Linked DNA regions of Homo sapiens: region 1 is linked to region 2. The links are contacts of gene promoters, found by promoter capture Hi-C in blood cells and fetal thymus (Javierre and others, 2016). All regions are on one chromosome and are shown on one strand. The core of a region is centred on a gene start or on the middle of the fragment in contact, and the rest is flanking DNA. Distances in the headings are between cores, read along the strand shown. Region 1 holds the start of DRICH1 (aspartate rich 1). Region 2 holds the start of DERL3 (derlin 3).

Evidence for each region. Contacts are between HindIII fragments. The CHiCAGO score rates a contact against its expected background, and 5 or more counts as called.
Region 1: the fragment with the promoter of DRICH1 here is called in contact with the fragment with the promoter of DERL3 in region 2 in 1 of 17 cell types (naive CD4 T cells); the score reaches 6.0 in naive CD4 T cells.

The regions. Positions count from the first base shown.
Region 1 is chr22:23,630,807-23,633,862 of GRCh38, forward strand. DRICH1 (aspartate rich 1) reads right to left here and starts at 1,515. Exons shown (of 12, transcript NM_016449.4): 1 at 1,010-1,515. The coding sequence starts at 1,217. LOC124905089 (a long non-coding RNA gene) reads right to left here. Exons shown (of 3, transcript XR_007068021.1): 3 at 2,070-2,104. RefSeq lists a silencer at 2,554-2,691. The HindIII fragment of the contact is 16,342 bases long and covers 1-1,553 here.
Region 2 is chr22:23,837,514-23,840,569 of GRCh38, forward strand. DERL3 (derlin 3) reads right to left here and starts at 1,493. Exons shown (of 7, transcript NM_001002862.3): 1 at 1,382-1,493; 2 at 1,198-1,263; 3 at 1,051-1,124; 4 at 839-932; 5 at 146-341. The coding sequence starts at 1,474. It overlaps SMARCB1 (SWI/SNF related BAF chromatin remodeling complex subunit B1), which reads left to right. Exons shown (of 9, transcript NM_003073.5): 9 at 1-496. RefSeq lists a silencer at 1,416-1,718. The HindIII fragment of the contact is 14,043 bases long and covers 1-3,056 here.

The DNA of each region.
Region 1 (3,056 bases), core at 265-2,764, 210 kb before region 2:
GGTCCTCACTCCTATCAGGAACCTGAAGCCAGGCAGGCTCTCCAGACAGAAGCAGGGAAGAGAGTCCCCTGCGAACCATCACTTAGATTTGTCATCAGCAAAGGAGTGGTCTTAGAATACGTACGGTGTTAGACAGGGAATGATACACACTGGGGCCTGTCAGGGGGCAGGGGAAGGGAGAGAATATGGATAAACAGTTAATGCATGCAGGGCTTCATACCTAGGTGATGGGTTGACAGGTGCAGCAAACCACCATGGCACACTTTTACCTACGTAACAAACCTGTACATCCTGCACATGTACCTCGGAACTTAAAAAAAATTAAATTAGGAGCCGGGCGCGATGCCTCATGCCTGTAATCACAGCACTTTGGGAGGCCGAGGCGGGCAGATCACCAGGTCAGGAGATCGAGACCATTCTGGCTAACACAGTGAAATCCCGTCTCTACTAAAAATACAAAAAATTAGCCGGGCGTGGTAGTGGGCACCTGTAGTCCCTACTCAGGAGGCTGATGCTAGAGAATCGCTTGAACCCAGGAGGCAGAGGTTGCAGTGAGCTGAGATCCCGCCACTGCACTCCAGCCTGGGCAACAGAGCAAGACTCCATCTAAAATAAATAAATAAATAAATAAATAAATAATAAATAAAATTTACAAAAAATAAGCTACCTTAAGAGATGGAAGAAAAACAATCTGACCCTTAGCTGGTTCCTTCATTTAGGTACCAAACCGGCCAGATAGGTGAGGCTAGAGAATGGGATGGGGACTCCAAAATTGGGGTATTTGAATTTTCATTGAGAAAAGGGCTCTCCCTTTTCTAGATCAAAAAGTCTCAACGACAAAGACAGGAGGCAGAGTCAGCCTTTGTCCCCCATGCCCAGACCTGGGAAAGCTGGCTATGGACAGGAGGGAGCTGGAAGCTGAGGATGTCTCTGGGGATGAGGGTAAGGGAAGGGGGTGGGGGTGGCCAGAGGTGTGCCAGAGGGTAAACGGCACCCGTGGCTTTTTTACCTGTGGGCATCTTTTGGTTGCTGATGTGCTGCAGGTCTTGGCCCTCCGTGGCTCCCACATCCAGCTTGCCAGGCTCTACAGTAGTGGATTCTGATGTTGCAGCAGCCACAGTCTCATAAATATCAGTATCAGATTCATAACAGGGTGCGTCCTTCCCCCTGGGCCAGCCACAGTGGGAGTTGATACAACAGGTCAGTATATTCCCCATGGGGCCTCTCCATGCCTCTCCACTCCTGCCTCAGCCTTCAGCGAAATTGTAACTGTGCTGCCCTAGCAGCCACACTACTGAGGGTGGCCCTGCACTTTTAGAAGCAGCCTGACCCCAGGCAGATCTGGGTCCTCAGCCCTTATTCTGCCGCCACCTCCCAAACTAGCTGGTCTATGAGGTCAGGGACCTGCTGTCTTCTTTGAAAAATAAACGAACATGACAAGCACCCAAAGGTGCAAAAACTGCCATCAAAGAGCACAGTTGGAGCTCCTCCTCCCTCCACTGCGAGCTACTGACTGAGGGCTGCTGGCCCTGGCTGATGCTTATAACCCACAAAGCTTCCTATGTCACCTGGTTACCAGGAAACAGCCAGGTCAGGCTAGTGACTCACAATGTCCAGCCCCACAGCCCCCCCCAATGCCTCATAATGCCTGTCCCTGCTGCTGCCCACCTTGTGGCCCCCCTGCCCCTCTGTGGGGACTGCACTACTCAGGCTTTTATTCACCCTATGCTGCCTGAGCTTTCCAGTCCTGAGCTAAGTGCAGGGGGAGTTGTTATTGCGAGTCACCCTTGGCAAGAAACTCAATAGAAAACCCTGGTATGGCCGGGAGTGGTGGCTCACGCCTGTAATCCTAGCACTTTGGGAGGCTGAGCGGGGGGGGTGGATCACTTGAGGTCAGGAGTTCAAGACCAGCCTGGCCAACATGGTGAAAACTTGTCTCTACTAAAAATACAAAATATTAGCTCGGCCTGGTGGCGGGCACCTGCAATCCTAGCTACTCAGGAGGCTGAGGCAGGAGAATCGCTTGAATCCAGGAGGCGGAGGTTGCACAGTGAGCCAAGATCACACCATTGCACTCCAGCCTGGGTGACAAAGGTGCAACTGTCTTTAAAAAAAAAAAAAAAAAAGAAACAAAAGAAAGAAAACCCCAGTTACTAAAGTCAGTTCCACCAGCAGTTCTGTTTTTCTGAGTCTGACAGCTTTCATTTGCTCACCAAATGTAGTTATACACAAATTTTTTACTGCTTTTCTAATTAAATGCTTCTCTCCTGTCTTACAAGTGTTAGTTCTTGTCTGCAACTTGACCATAGCTACCCCCAGGGCCCTGGTCCCACTCTCAATAGAGAGTTATGGCTGTGTATCCTCAGTGAAACCCTGGGACACATCACACTTCCCTCCTCGTCTATAAAATAGGGACTGAACACATCCTTCCCAGTTCTGTAATGCTACGACCTACCAACTCCCTTTTCTCGCTCTGTTTCTTCTTTCCATGGCAGGGGTATTCAGATATTTCTTTTATTTACTTATTTATTTATTTTTTGAGATGGACTATTGCTCTGTCGACCAGGCTGGAGTGCAGTGGCACGATCTCGGCTCACTGTAACCTCCACCTCCCAGGTTCAAGCGATTCTCCAGCCTCAGCCTCCTGAGTAGCCTGGACTACAGGCACACGCCACCGCATCTGGCTAATTTTTGTATTTCTAGTAGAGACGAGGGTTTCACCATGTTGGTCAGGCTGGTCTTGAACTCATCTCAGGTGATCCACCCGCCTCGTCCTCCCAAAGTGCTGGGATTACAGGCATGAACCACCATGCCCAGCCTCAGGTATTTCTTTTACTAACAAATCATAAAACATTATTTTCTTATACAAAATTGAGAACCCCACAGTGGGGTACCATTGTCCTCATAGGACAAAGACAAATAGTCAATATCTGGCAAGCATTATGTGCCTGACAGTGTTCCAACTGTGGCATACTAATTTAACCCTCAGAAATAGTCCCATTTTACACATCTTACAGCGTAAATCTAGAGGGAAAAGTCAAGTAACTTCCCCAAGG
Region 2 (3,056 bases), core at 243-2,742:
AGCAGCTGGGAGGGCAGGAAGATGGGGATGGAGCCAGGTGTGAGGAGAACTCCAGCAAGGATGGGAGAGGGGCCCCAGGGCATAAGCAGCGTGTCCTGAGGGGAGTGGCCAGCCTGGGGCGGACTAGATGTACCGGGAGGCTCACCCAGCAGGTCCACGAGGATGGAGTTGCCCAGCAGCAGCGAGAAGCCCATGAGCGCCCAAGGCAGGAACGGTGCCTGGAAAGTGAGCAGGCCGAAGAAGTTGACCCTCACCCGAGGGCTGCGGCGGCTCCACACGTACACCAGCATGGCCATGAGGGCCTGGCCCAGGAAGAACAGGCTGCCCAGGAGTCCCAGCAGCTGGGCCAGAGTCAAGGTGCTCCGGTGCAGGCCTCAGCCCAAGCCCAGGGCCCCTCTGACTTCCCAAGACCCTGGAATTCTTCCCCTCATCTCCCCTATGTGCTATTCCCTCATCAAGATGAGCCAGTCCAATAAAGGCGACACACTCCACGGGCTTCAGGTCCCACGAAATCTGCCCTGCACACCTACAGCCTCATCCCAGGGCCCAACCACTGCCTGTCCCTGCCCCAGTTTCTCCCGGCTACTCGCATTCAGGGCTCAGCTAGTGGCCCTGACAACCCACCTGGCTCTTTTGTGCATGGCTTTGTATTTTGCATACAGCACTGAAGATCTAGCCCTGACCCCTGCAGCTGAGCACAGAGTGGGCCCTCAACACATACTAAGCTGGAGACAGCGACTGTGTCCCTCTCTGGCATGGCTGTGTTGGCCCCAGGACCAACACAGGCTGGACGCCGAGGCGCCCTAGCCCGAGGTTCCAGAGCCTGCGGGAAGGATACGGTCATAAGGACGCCCCCGAAGAGAAACATGAAGACGAAGTCGGCCGTGCGGCCGCGGAAGGAGCCCTCTTCCAGCATGCGGCAGTAGCGGAACCTACGGCGTCGGTATAGGAAGTGCCACCAGGCGGGGCCTCAGTTTCCCCGTCCCGGCCTCTCTCCCAGCCCGGCCGGCCTGCCCTCCACCCAGCCCGTGTCCGCAGGGCGCAGGATACACGAAGAGCATGTTGAAGAAGAAGCTGAATCCCAGGGGCCCGAAGAAGAGGAAGTTGGTGACGAGCCTCCAGACCTACGGGGGACGGGCGGTCAGGTGCGGGGTGGGTGGGTCGGGCCCACAGGTGCGCGGCGCGGGGCGGCCTCACCTGGAACTTCCGGAACACAAGGTGCGGGTTGAAGTAGAGTTGAAAGGGGCTGAGGAGCTCCAGCTGCTGTGGAACCAGGGGCCAGTCAAGAGCTGCCCGGGAGCCACGCCGTAACCATGGCGACCCTCACCCCTCCCGCCAGAGGCTGTAACCAAGGCGACGTCCGGTCCGCCCGGCCGCTTACCACCGCGGCGGTGGTGAGGACACAGGCTGCGGTGTAAGCCCGCGTCACCGCCGGCACCTGCAGGAACTCGGCCGCTAGTCCCTGCCACGCCATTGAACCTTCTCAAGCACGCGTGGCCCAGCCAGCAACGCGCTCTTTAACCCGCCTCCCAGCCCCGCCTTCGGCCAATCCGCATCCGAGGCGCTGCGCGCCCCAGGCTGAAAAGAGAGCCCCTGAGCCCGACAGCCAATGGAAGGAAGAAGAGGGAAATTAGGGGCGGAAAGGGAGAGTGGGCGGGTAGAGGCTGGTGGCCAATGGGCAGGCGCCAAGGTTGAGCACGTGGCGGTTGTTGTGGCTGCGGTGGTGGCGCGGGAGAACGTGTGGCCAATGAGGAACTGGTCATTTCGCGGCTTTCTAGGAGAGGACCAGTAGCGTGGACCCACGACACCACGGGGGCGGGGCTAAGATCGTATGGGTTACAGGAGCGAAGACCCGAGCAGGCGAGGCAAAACTGGAAAGGGCGGGGCGCGTGGGCGGGGCGCGGAGTGTGGCGGCTCAGACCGTGCTGGCTCACTAACTGACGACCTAGCCACAACGTTGTCCTCGCTGCCAGCCCAAGACAGGCCCACCTAACCCACAGCAGGGAGGCATTCGGGAATGTGTCCAAACCTCCCCAAACGTCCAGGGCCCCACTCAAATGTGCCGGCCGCTGTCGGGGTTCTTCCCCGGGGGCCCAAGGAAGGAGAGGCAGGACTGCGGGATTGAGTCCAGGTGGGGCGCGAGGGTTGAGAGGCGCACCAGAGCAAGTGGACAGGCAGGAGAGGTCCTCAATATTTTGGTGGAAAATAGAAACCAACCTACCCACCTTCCTTCCCTCCTTCCCTCCCTCCCTCCCTCCCTTCCTTCCTTCCACCGTTTATTAAACAACTGTTTGCCTGACACTGTTCTAGATGTTGGGGATGTAGCATGCAATAAAAGACACTGTCTCTTAGAGTCCAGCCAGGAGGCAGTCAATACAATAAGCTAGTGCTGACACTTGATGAGAATATTGCCAAGTGAGGGGTGGGGCCACGTGGGCGTCCGCAGTGCCAGGTGGGGTGACCTGGGATACCTCTAAAGTTTGTCACTTTGCAAGCATCCCTGTGTCCATCAGGATGGTAACTGTGAAAAGCAAAACAATAAAACAAAATAAGTGTTGGCGAGGATATGGGGAAATTGGAACCCTTGGGCACCGTTGGTGGGAATATAAAATGGTGCATCCGCTGTGAAAAACAATATGATCATGACTCAAAAAATTAAAAATAGAATTACCGTATGATCCAGCAATGCTGCTTGTGGGTACACATTCAAAAGAATCAAAAGCAGGGACTTGAACAGATGTTCATACACCCATGTTCATGGCCCCATTATTCACAATGGTTCACATCAGTTCACCCACCGATGAGACAGACGAAATGTGCTGTCTACATGCAATGCAATACCATTCAACCTTAAAGGAATGAAATTCGGATACATGATGCAGCATGGATGACCCTTGAAGACATTACACCCAGTAACATAAACCAGTCACAAGGCTGGGCGCAGTGGCTCACACCTGTAATCCCAGCACTTTGGGAGGCCGAGGCGGGTGGATCACCTGAGGTCAGGAGTTCGAGACCAGCCTGGCCAACATGGTGAAACCTCGTCTCTACTAAAA